Linked DNA regions of Homo sapiens: region 2 is linked to region 1. The links are contacts of gene promoters, found by promoter capture Hi-C in blood cells and fetal thymus (Javierre and others, 2016). All regions are on one chromosome and are shown on one strand. Each heading gives the region's core, a stretch centred on a gene start or on the middle of the fragment in contact. The rest is flanking DNA. Distances are from core to core; before and after follow the strand shown.

The links. Contacts are between HindIII fragments. The CHiCAGO score rates a contact against its expected background, and 5 or more counts as called.
Region 2: a contact is called between a fragment that was not itself captured here and the fragment with the promoter of SAMD5 in region 1, in 3 of 17 cell types (megakaryocytes, erythroblasts and endothelial precursors). The highest score is 8.7, in megakaryocytes.

What each region holds. Positions count from the first base shown.
Region 1 is chr6:147,506,693-147,511,003 of GRCh38, reverse strand. SAMD5 (sterile alpha motif domain containing 5) reads right to left here and starts at 2,314. Exons shown (of 2, transcript NM_001030060.3): 1 at 1,617-2,314. The coding sequence starts at 2,075. RefSeq lists a silencer at 4,113-4,162. The HindIII fragment of the contact is 12,433 bases long and covers 1,088-4,311 here.
Region 2 is chr6:147,968,153-147,972,463 of GRCh38, reverse strand. No RefSeq gene overlaps it. Among named protein-coding and RNA genes, the nearest start is that of SASH1, 370 kb to the left of the region's middle. The HindIII fragment of the contact is 802 bases long and covers 1,966-2,767 here.

The sequences.
Region 1 (4,311 bases), core at 1,065-3,564:
ACATCTAACTGGCTTTGATCTCCTTTGACCTGCTGTGTCCAGGACCAAGCCTTTATACTGATGACCAGATCTCTCTATCCACACCAGACATACATGGAACTCCTACATACAGGCAACTGCCTGGGAAAAGTGTTCTCTCCTTTCCTGCTTTGAGCACACATCAGTGGCACAGAGTGGGTAACTGGAACACGTGTTTAATTTGAAGCACTCTGTCCTCCCAACCTGCCTTCTTTGTATCCTCCTTAAAAAACCAATTAACATGGTCAAGCAGGTGATCTGAATTGCCTATGGTACGTGCAAGGTAGTAGATAATATTAAACCCCTTATTCCCATCTACCTTAGGTATTGTTATCTACTCTTAACAAAGCTTTCCCTTTAACTTCCTTAACTCCAGGCATTACAGCCTTTACTTAAGATTCTACAGCAATACTACCAGGGCCCAAGATACCCACACAACACTGAGATTATCCACATTTCCTATTAGGGAGTTGGGTTTCTGTGGCCCACCAGCTGAGTATGTTTGCCATCATTTTCTCCCTGGGCTCTTCTAAGTCTTGATTTTTAAGCTGAGGTGCTCATATTCCTGTGCACCTTCTGCAATCCTGAGCGTTACCTGTGCTGTCTACTTCTCTATCAAGTCAGGACCCTCTACTCCGACAGCCGCCTGAACTAGAAACCTAAACGGAACAGACTCGCAGCTAGAAGCAGAGCTCTGGTGTGAAGTACCATTTTCTGTTAATTACCCAGCTCCCACTCCACATTTCGGAACTTCCAGGTTCCTTCCCTGAGGCCCCCGGTGCAGAGGATTCCCCTTTAGTTCACTTGTGCTCGGTCCTCCTCTCCCAAATGCAGGTCCACTCACACTTCCTGGAAGTCACAGTTGTACCTACTTCATCTTATCTGGCTTAATAATAAACCAAACTCGTGACAGCCCAGACCTCTGAAGCACATCCTGTGGCCCGATTATCTCTGATGTCCTTAGCACCTTATTGCCTCCAGTATACACAAGTTTAGGAAATCATCTCAAGTGGACTGACACGTGCTTCCTTCACTTTTCCTCTTAAAATGCTCATGTGAATGGTAAGCTTCTCAAATTTGCAGCAGCGCTGGGATTTTTTATGGAATTGAGAAAGGCAGGGCCTGACTTTCCACTCTTTAAAGAGTTCACCGATTTCCCTTAGGAGTTTCTCAAGACTCAAAAAAGGAAAAGAAAGAGAAAAAGGAAGGTAGAAAGCAATGTAGGTATTAACCATTTTTTCTGGTACTCTTCAAACCCAAAACTACTATAGAGGGCGTTAGGAATTCCCCCTGGCTACCAGGTGAAGCAGCGCGAGTCCGATTCCTGACAGGCGAGCACCAGAGAGGATGCGGAGTTTTGGTCGTTAGTTTAGAGATAACATCTGGATGCGGGGGCTTGTCTTACCAACCACTGGAGACACCAGGAAGGACGAAATAATGGGCTAATACAGAAAGAACATAGAAAAGGGTCCCAGATACCCAAAGCCTCCTGGCCTCTCCGTCGTCACCTGGAATGGGTTGCAAAGCCTTGGCACAGGCAGCTGGGCTGTGTCCCCTCCCGCCGCGCGCCCCGGGCCGCCCGGACGGCACCTCCTTACCTTGCGGGAGTACGGGGGCTTGCTCAGGTGGATGCCGTCACGGACGAGCTTATCCCTGATCATGATCTTCAGCTTCAGTTTGGGGTAGCTCACCAGCTCCCTGCTGCGGGGGGCGGTCGTGTGGCCGCGAGAGTCCCCGCGGGTGCCCTGGGCCGGGCCGCCGCACGGCTCCCCCCGGCGGCCGGTGGGGACGGCGTCGGCGGGCGGCCCGGGGGGCGCCGGCTGCGGCTCAAGCGTGAAGTAGAGGCCGGCGGCGTTGGCGTCCTGCTCCCGCAGCCGGCGCACGGCCTCCAGGATACGGCGGCGGTGCGCGGGCGCCAGCACCCCGATGGCATCCAGGTCCGGGTCCCCGATCTGCTTGCACACCTCCAGGTCATCGTAGCCGTTATCCACGAAGGACTCCGCGTACTGCGGAAGCTGCAGCGCTTTGAGCCACTCGTAAACTATGTTGGTGCACATGGTGGGACCGGGAACCCCGCCGCCGAGCACCTTCCCAGCGCCCAAATGGCACGGGCGGCACCAGTTCTTGGAACTTTTAATCCTCTCCTCCAAGGGGAAAAGGGTATCGCAGTAAAGTTTTCCTTTTAAAGGAAAGGCTCGGGCAGGAGACGGAAAACCATCAGAAGAAGCCTGAGGAAGGGAGAAGCGAACAAGCAGCAAAGTGAATTCCCCAAGCAGCAGCGGAGCTCGCAGGCACTGGCTGCTGGGCTGAGCAAGGCTCCGCGCCGCCCCTGGATGCGCCGCCGACGCTGCCGCCGCGGGGAGGGGCGCGCGACTGGCGCGGGAGGGGGCGGAGACGGGAGGGGCCGGGGCACACCCCTCGGACCTGCGCCGGGTCAGCGCTGCGCAGTGCCGCCCGCGAGTTTTCCCAGCCGGGACGGTCCGGCGGCTGCGCGCCGCATCTCGCGCTCTGGCAGCCGCCGCCGCCGCTGGCGCGCTCCGCGCCGCGAGGCGACTTCTCCACGCAGACCCGCGGCCGCTGGGAGCGCCTAGTCTTCGCGAGTGTCAGTCACTGTAGTCCTCCCGGCGGGAAGCCGGTGGCTTCTACGCTGCTGGGCTCCGTTGGCTGCCCTGGGTTGCTTTTCACATTTCTGTTTAATCTGACTCTTCTACCCGTGGAAGTCTGTGCTCACTTCTTCCCGACCCTGCCGGACTCCAGCTTCCGCGCCCGCTGGCAGCCCAAGGACACGTCCCGCCGCCCCACGGCGCTGGGGACGCTGCGGGGTTCAGTGTCCCTTCCTTCCGGATCCGCGTTTGAATCCCCCTTCCTCGGATCCCGTACGCAGCCCAGAGCCCGGCGATCTGACTTCTTCCGTGGGCGGCCACTCAGTGACCCGAGCGGCGGCGTTTTGGCCCGGAGGGTGGGCGCAACGTGGGGACCGCCCGGGTCCAGCCGGCTTGCGCGCCGCCCCTCCTCGCTGCAGCTGGGCACGTTGGGCGGCAGGAGAGGCTGCTGTCTTCCTGGCTCTCCCTTCCTAAGCTCCCGGGTCTGCGAAAGTTTGGGGTGGGTTGTACTTTCTCCTAGGTCAGTGTGTCCCACCCGGTACCCCACCCTCCTTTCTGCCCGGCCCCTCCCCCTCGTCGGCGCTATGCTTTCTCTCCGGGCCCCCCACCTAGTATACTGCACGGGCTCCCGGGGTGGCTTTGCCCCCGGGGACACTGCCAGGCGTTCGGTCCTGGAGCCCGGGAATCCGAGCCTATCCTCTCGCTCCCGCCCGGGGATCGCGTGAAAATCAATAGAGCACCACCCAGCTCGTGTTGGAAGGGACGCTCAGACATCTCCGCCCACGGCATTTTCCCTCTAGGAGGTAACAAAATCAATCGAGTTTCCCCATCATGCCAATGTCTGAGCAGCCTCTTGGGACTGGGGACTCGAGTGGCAGGTGGAACAGACCAAGCGCCTGGGCCCCATTTCCCGGTGTCTGACCTCTTCTTGGGACTAAGGGAAGTGAGGGACGGCGGGGGCAGGTACTGTCTCCTCTCTTTCCGCAGAAGGGCGATTCAGCTTCGCACCTGAGCTGTTTAAGGACCAGATCTGACCTTTTTTTCTGAAGATTGCCCGTGGGGCGTGCCAGTCTCTCGCCCGACCTTGGGAAGTGGACAAGGAGTGATTTCAGAGTCGTTTCTCGACCTGCTGTGTGTTTGGCATTTGGGTGGGTGGTTAGGTGGGCCCTCTTATCCTAAACCAAGAGAGCTTAACCCCCTCTTGGGACACGAACCCCTTAAAGAATCAGATGACAGCTTCTGTCCTTTTGCCCAGGAAAATACCCGACATAGGCGCACCCAAAACGTTCCCTACAGTCGCAGGGGGGTTCTGGTTTCCCAAACCCCGGGACTCACGAATCTCAAATTAAGGACAGCTGGCAGAAAGGACTGTCTGCTTAGGGGGAGGGGAGAGACCAACGCGGAGAGCCGGTGGAGCTGCTTGTGGCCCCAAACTTGGGTCACCCGGGACGCCCTTTCCGGAACCGAGTTAAGGTCTCGGACCCTGGTAGGTGGCGAAGCTCCTGGGCGCTGGGATGCTGGAAGGGCGCAGCCCTCCCCGCCCCGCGCGGGCCGCCGCCTCTCCCTCGCCAAAGCGGACTCACAGTGCCCCCTCGCGTCCGCGCGTTGACCCATTTTAAGGCGTTGTCCCTGTCCCCAAACTCATTCTATTCAGCAGAAGAAAGTGGGCTTTATGGCTTTATACTGGTTC
Region 2 (4,311 bases), core at 1,117-3,616, 460 kb before region 1:
AGACTCTAACTCATATCTCTTCCTGACTCTTTATCCATCTTTCCAAAGAGTGTCTATCTGAGCTCAGTCTCAGGCTCATTTAATTATGACATCTGAATCAATACTTCATGCTAGCCCCAGACTGCACTGGCCTGCTTGGCAGTTTCCAATATCCAAGACAGCCCTTCTAAAAATGTTCACCTTCTTATTTGAAAATAAGGTACCTGCCTTGCCATTGGGTTTCTTTATTTATTTTTAATTTTGAAATCAGTCATTACTTATAGGCCTTGCAAGATTTAACATATGTTTCCAAAAGCAAATATGGCATTTTCTGAACTCAGATTCGCTTTCTGCCTCTGAAATGCTAAGCCAGAGACCACAGAAATGGAAATGAAACTAACACCAATTTAAATAAATTACAAGCTGACAACAATCTGCCTCAGTGATGTTTTAAATGAAATGTATTAACTGCAAAAATATCAGAATGCCTTGGGCTATCTTAAGAGACTCCATTTTGACACTGGGGTAGGTTTTTAGATATCTACATATAAAGGAACATAACATGAGGGAGGTTTAGAAATAAAAAAGGTTGCTCAATAATGGTTTGTTCTTAGTCTGTTCTGTCTGCTATAAAAAATACCATAAACTATGTAGCTCATGAACAGTAGATTTATTTCTCATAGCTCTGGAGGCTGGGAAGTCCAAAATCAAGGCAGATTCAGTATCTGGTGAGCTCTCACTTACTGTTTCGTAAACAGTCATCGTTTTCACTATGTCTTTACATGGCAGAAGGGGCAAGGAGGTCTCCTTTATAAGAGAATTAATCCCATTAATAAGGGCTCTATCTTCATGACCTAAACACCTTCCAAAGACCCCATCTCCCAATACCATCACTTTGGGTATTAGGATTTCAATATATGAATTTCAACTTATGAATAAGATCAATTTATCTACTCATATTTATTGCACCAATCAGGTTCCAAATCTAGCATATTATGCTGAGGTCAGAATGTCTGTACATTCTGTATTCAAAGAACAGCTGTGGTTATGCTCTTAGAGCATAGGTACTGGCCTAGAATCAGAACACTTAAGAGTTGTCCTTGATCATCAAATCTGCAAGCTTAATGCAAATCACCTGGAGTCTCAATTTCCTTGTCCATCAAATATTCAGAGGGAGAGAGATCCTAGGATGTTGAACCTTTAAGTTGGAAAAGTCTGTGATTATAAGAACATCTCAACGGTGCATGCTTAGCCCTTAAAATGTTCATCAAGGAATTTTGGTCCTTTCTATATGTCTAGGCCTCTAGGTGGCTCCAAGCTACAGGCTTATATGTGTATATAAGGTAAAGTCCTATACATGTCTCTAAGGTATAGGCCCCTAGAAGTCTATGTACATGGTTATAGATCTATATATATCTATCAAAGATCAGCTTCTAAGGGCCTAAAAGCTGCAAGCCAATATGTGTCCATAAAGTGTAGGCCTAGGTATGTCTACAATGTTTAGACCTAGGTGTGGCTATAAGGTATGAGGTAATGCTTGTCTGTAAGGTTTAGGTTCATATAAGTCTCAAATGTCTTGATAATGTCCCAAAGGGAGTCGAGGAATTAGTTAAATTACCTTGATAAGATTTTATCTAGTTTTTGGACTAAAGATAAACTCTACAATTATACTATGAGGAATAAAAAAGACAGGAACAAACAATCATGCACATACATATACATATATAAAATTATTTCTTGGAAATATAAGGAAGAAGTCTGTACAAAATACAGATTTAATAATAAGTAAGTTCTTTTCATTGTTGGGAATTGAAAAGGAAAACATATAAAATCTTTTTAATGAAGCTTTGTAAGCTGTTAAATCAAAATCAATGGTTTGGTGACTGTTTTTAATGCTCCTAACAAAAAGAAAAAAAAACTCTTTATATCTTTCCCCTGTTAGCACTTAGTCTTACTGCCACTGGCAGGACTTAAATTCTTTAAGCTTAGCCTTGTCCTAAAGGAGAAATAGCCATTATGATTTGTTGCCTTTGGGAATGATGTGTGATTGATGAGGGCTCAAATGTTCCAATGAGGGAAGTATGAGGCCAAATACAGTTTGACAGATGTCCCAAACAATAATATTAATAGTTTACATTTATTATTGTCACTATCTTTTCAAATGCTTTGATTAGATTCCCAGTGTACGTTATGTACAAAATATTGTTTCTTGTTCATATTACTATGGTCATCTCAATGAGGCAATCAAAACCCACATGAAAAATTCTTCACAAAACACACAAAATATCCCAAAAGTGTTTTTGTGGATTGCTGCTTTTTATAGCTTCTATTAACTAGGTCCTGACAGTGCAGGGCGTGTCACTAAACATTTATGAATGACCACAGAATAGAACTTCATCTCATTTACTATATGTGCACATAATAATCTTTTATGAATCCTAATATCTTTCAAAACACATCTTGAAAAACCTACAATTTTTTTGGCTTATAGAAATTGCTGAGAAAAGATGAGAGAAGAACTCTATTTTTCTGCTTTTAAACTAATTTCCCATCATTTGCAGATCACTCAGCTTTCAAATTTTCACATAAGGAAAGAACTACAATTATCCAGCTCTGGCCTCTTAAACCCATGGTTTAGACTTTGCTTTATCCTGACTCCAGATACCTTCTAGGACTGTAAAACATATCGGTAGATCCTCTTTTCATCACCTGACTGCTTAGAAATAGTTTGTATACCACTTCTCAAAAGAACACATTTATGTGGCCAACAAACATATGAAAAAAAGCTTATCATCACTGGTCATTACAGAAATAAACCAAAACCACAATGAGATACCATCTCATGCCAGTTAGAATGTGATCATTAAAAAGTCAGGAAACAACAGATGCTGAAGAGGATGTGGAGAAATAGGAACACTTTTATACTGTTGGTGGGAGTGTAAATTAGTTCCATCATTGTGGAAAACAGTGTGGTGATTCCTCAAGGATCTAGAACCATAAATACCATTTGACCCATTACTGGGTATATACCCAAAGGATTATAAATCATTCTACTGTAAAGACACATGCACATGTATATTTATTGCAGCACTGTTCACAATAGCAAAGACTTGGAACCAACCCAAATATCCATCAATGAGAGACTGGATAAGGAAAATATGGCACGTATACACCATGGAATACCATGCAGCCATAAAACAAGATGAGTTCATGTGTTTACAGGGACATGGATGAAGCTGGAAACCATCATTCTCAGCAAACTAATACAAGAACAGAAAACCAAACACCACATGTTCTCACTCATAAGTGGGAGTTGAAAAATGAGAACACATGGACACAGAGAGGGGAACATCACACACCAGGGCCTGTTGGGGGCTGGGGGGCTGAGGGGGATAGCATTAGGAGAAATACCTAATGTAGATGACCAGTTGATGGGTGCAGCAAACCACCATAGCATGTGTATATCTATGTAACAAACCTGCATGTTCTGCACATGTATCCCAGAACTTAAAGTATAATTAAAAAATTAAATTAAAAAAAAAAGAAATAGTTTGTCTACTCAGAGCTCCATATGGAGGGACGTTTTGGGTCAGACATGTCAGCAGTGGAAGTCATTTAAGACAAATTGCCCCTGGGTTGAGACCGTTTTCTGATGCCAAAGACTATGAAGAAAATGTAACCTGAGTTCTCTGAATGAACTTTTCACCACTGGCACGTGTGGATGCAAGGGAGCACAGAGCAGAGGGAAGAGGCGGTGCAGTTCAGCGTGAGTCCTTACTTAAGAGCATCATTCTAGTTATTGTCCAAATCCAGATATCTAGTTTTTTCCAAAAAAAAGTTCACCAACCAGATTGCTAAAAAAAAGTTCACCGACCAGGTCAACCTGTATAAACTGGGATTGTTTGAGGCAAACTGGGATGTACGGTCACACTGTCATCCCTGGCTGGGCAACCTTTTATGCATTATGCCCTGTCTCTGGGCCTCAGTTGTCTTACATGAAAAAGGAGATTAACTGTACCTGCCTGACCTATCTCAGAGGATTATGGGAAACTTAATGCAGTAATGTTTATCAAAGCACTTTGGTAACCTAGAAAAACTATATAATAAAAAGATAAGCATCATTACTATTGATGCTAACATGTGATTAGACAAGTCATAAGAGCCTGAAAAATCCAAAAGAATGGAAAAAAGGGATTTGCACTACACCATTAGGCTTTCTGGGATATGTTTATTTATGTCTCTTGTATTATTTATTAAGGATTTTATTTAAATATCCTTTATATAGTTGTTGTACAGAAAAAATCTGCCACTTCTCACTTTATTTTATTCTCA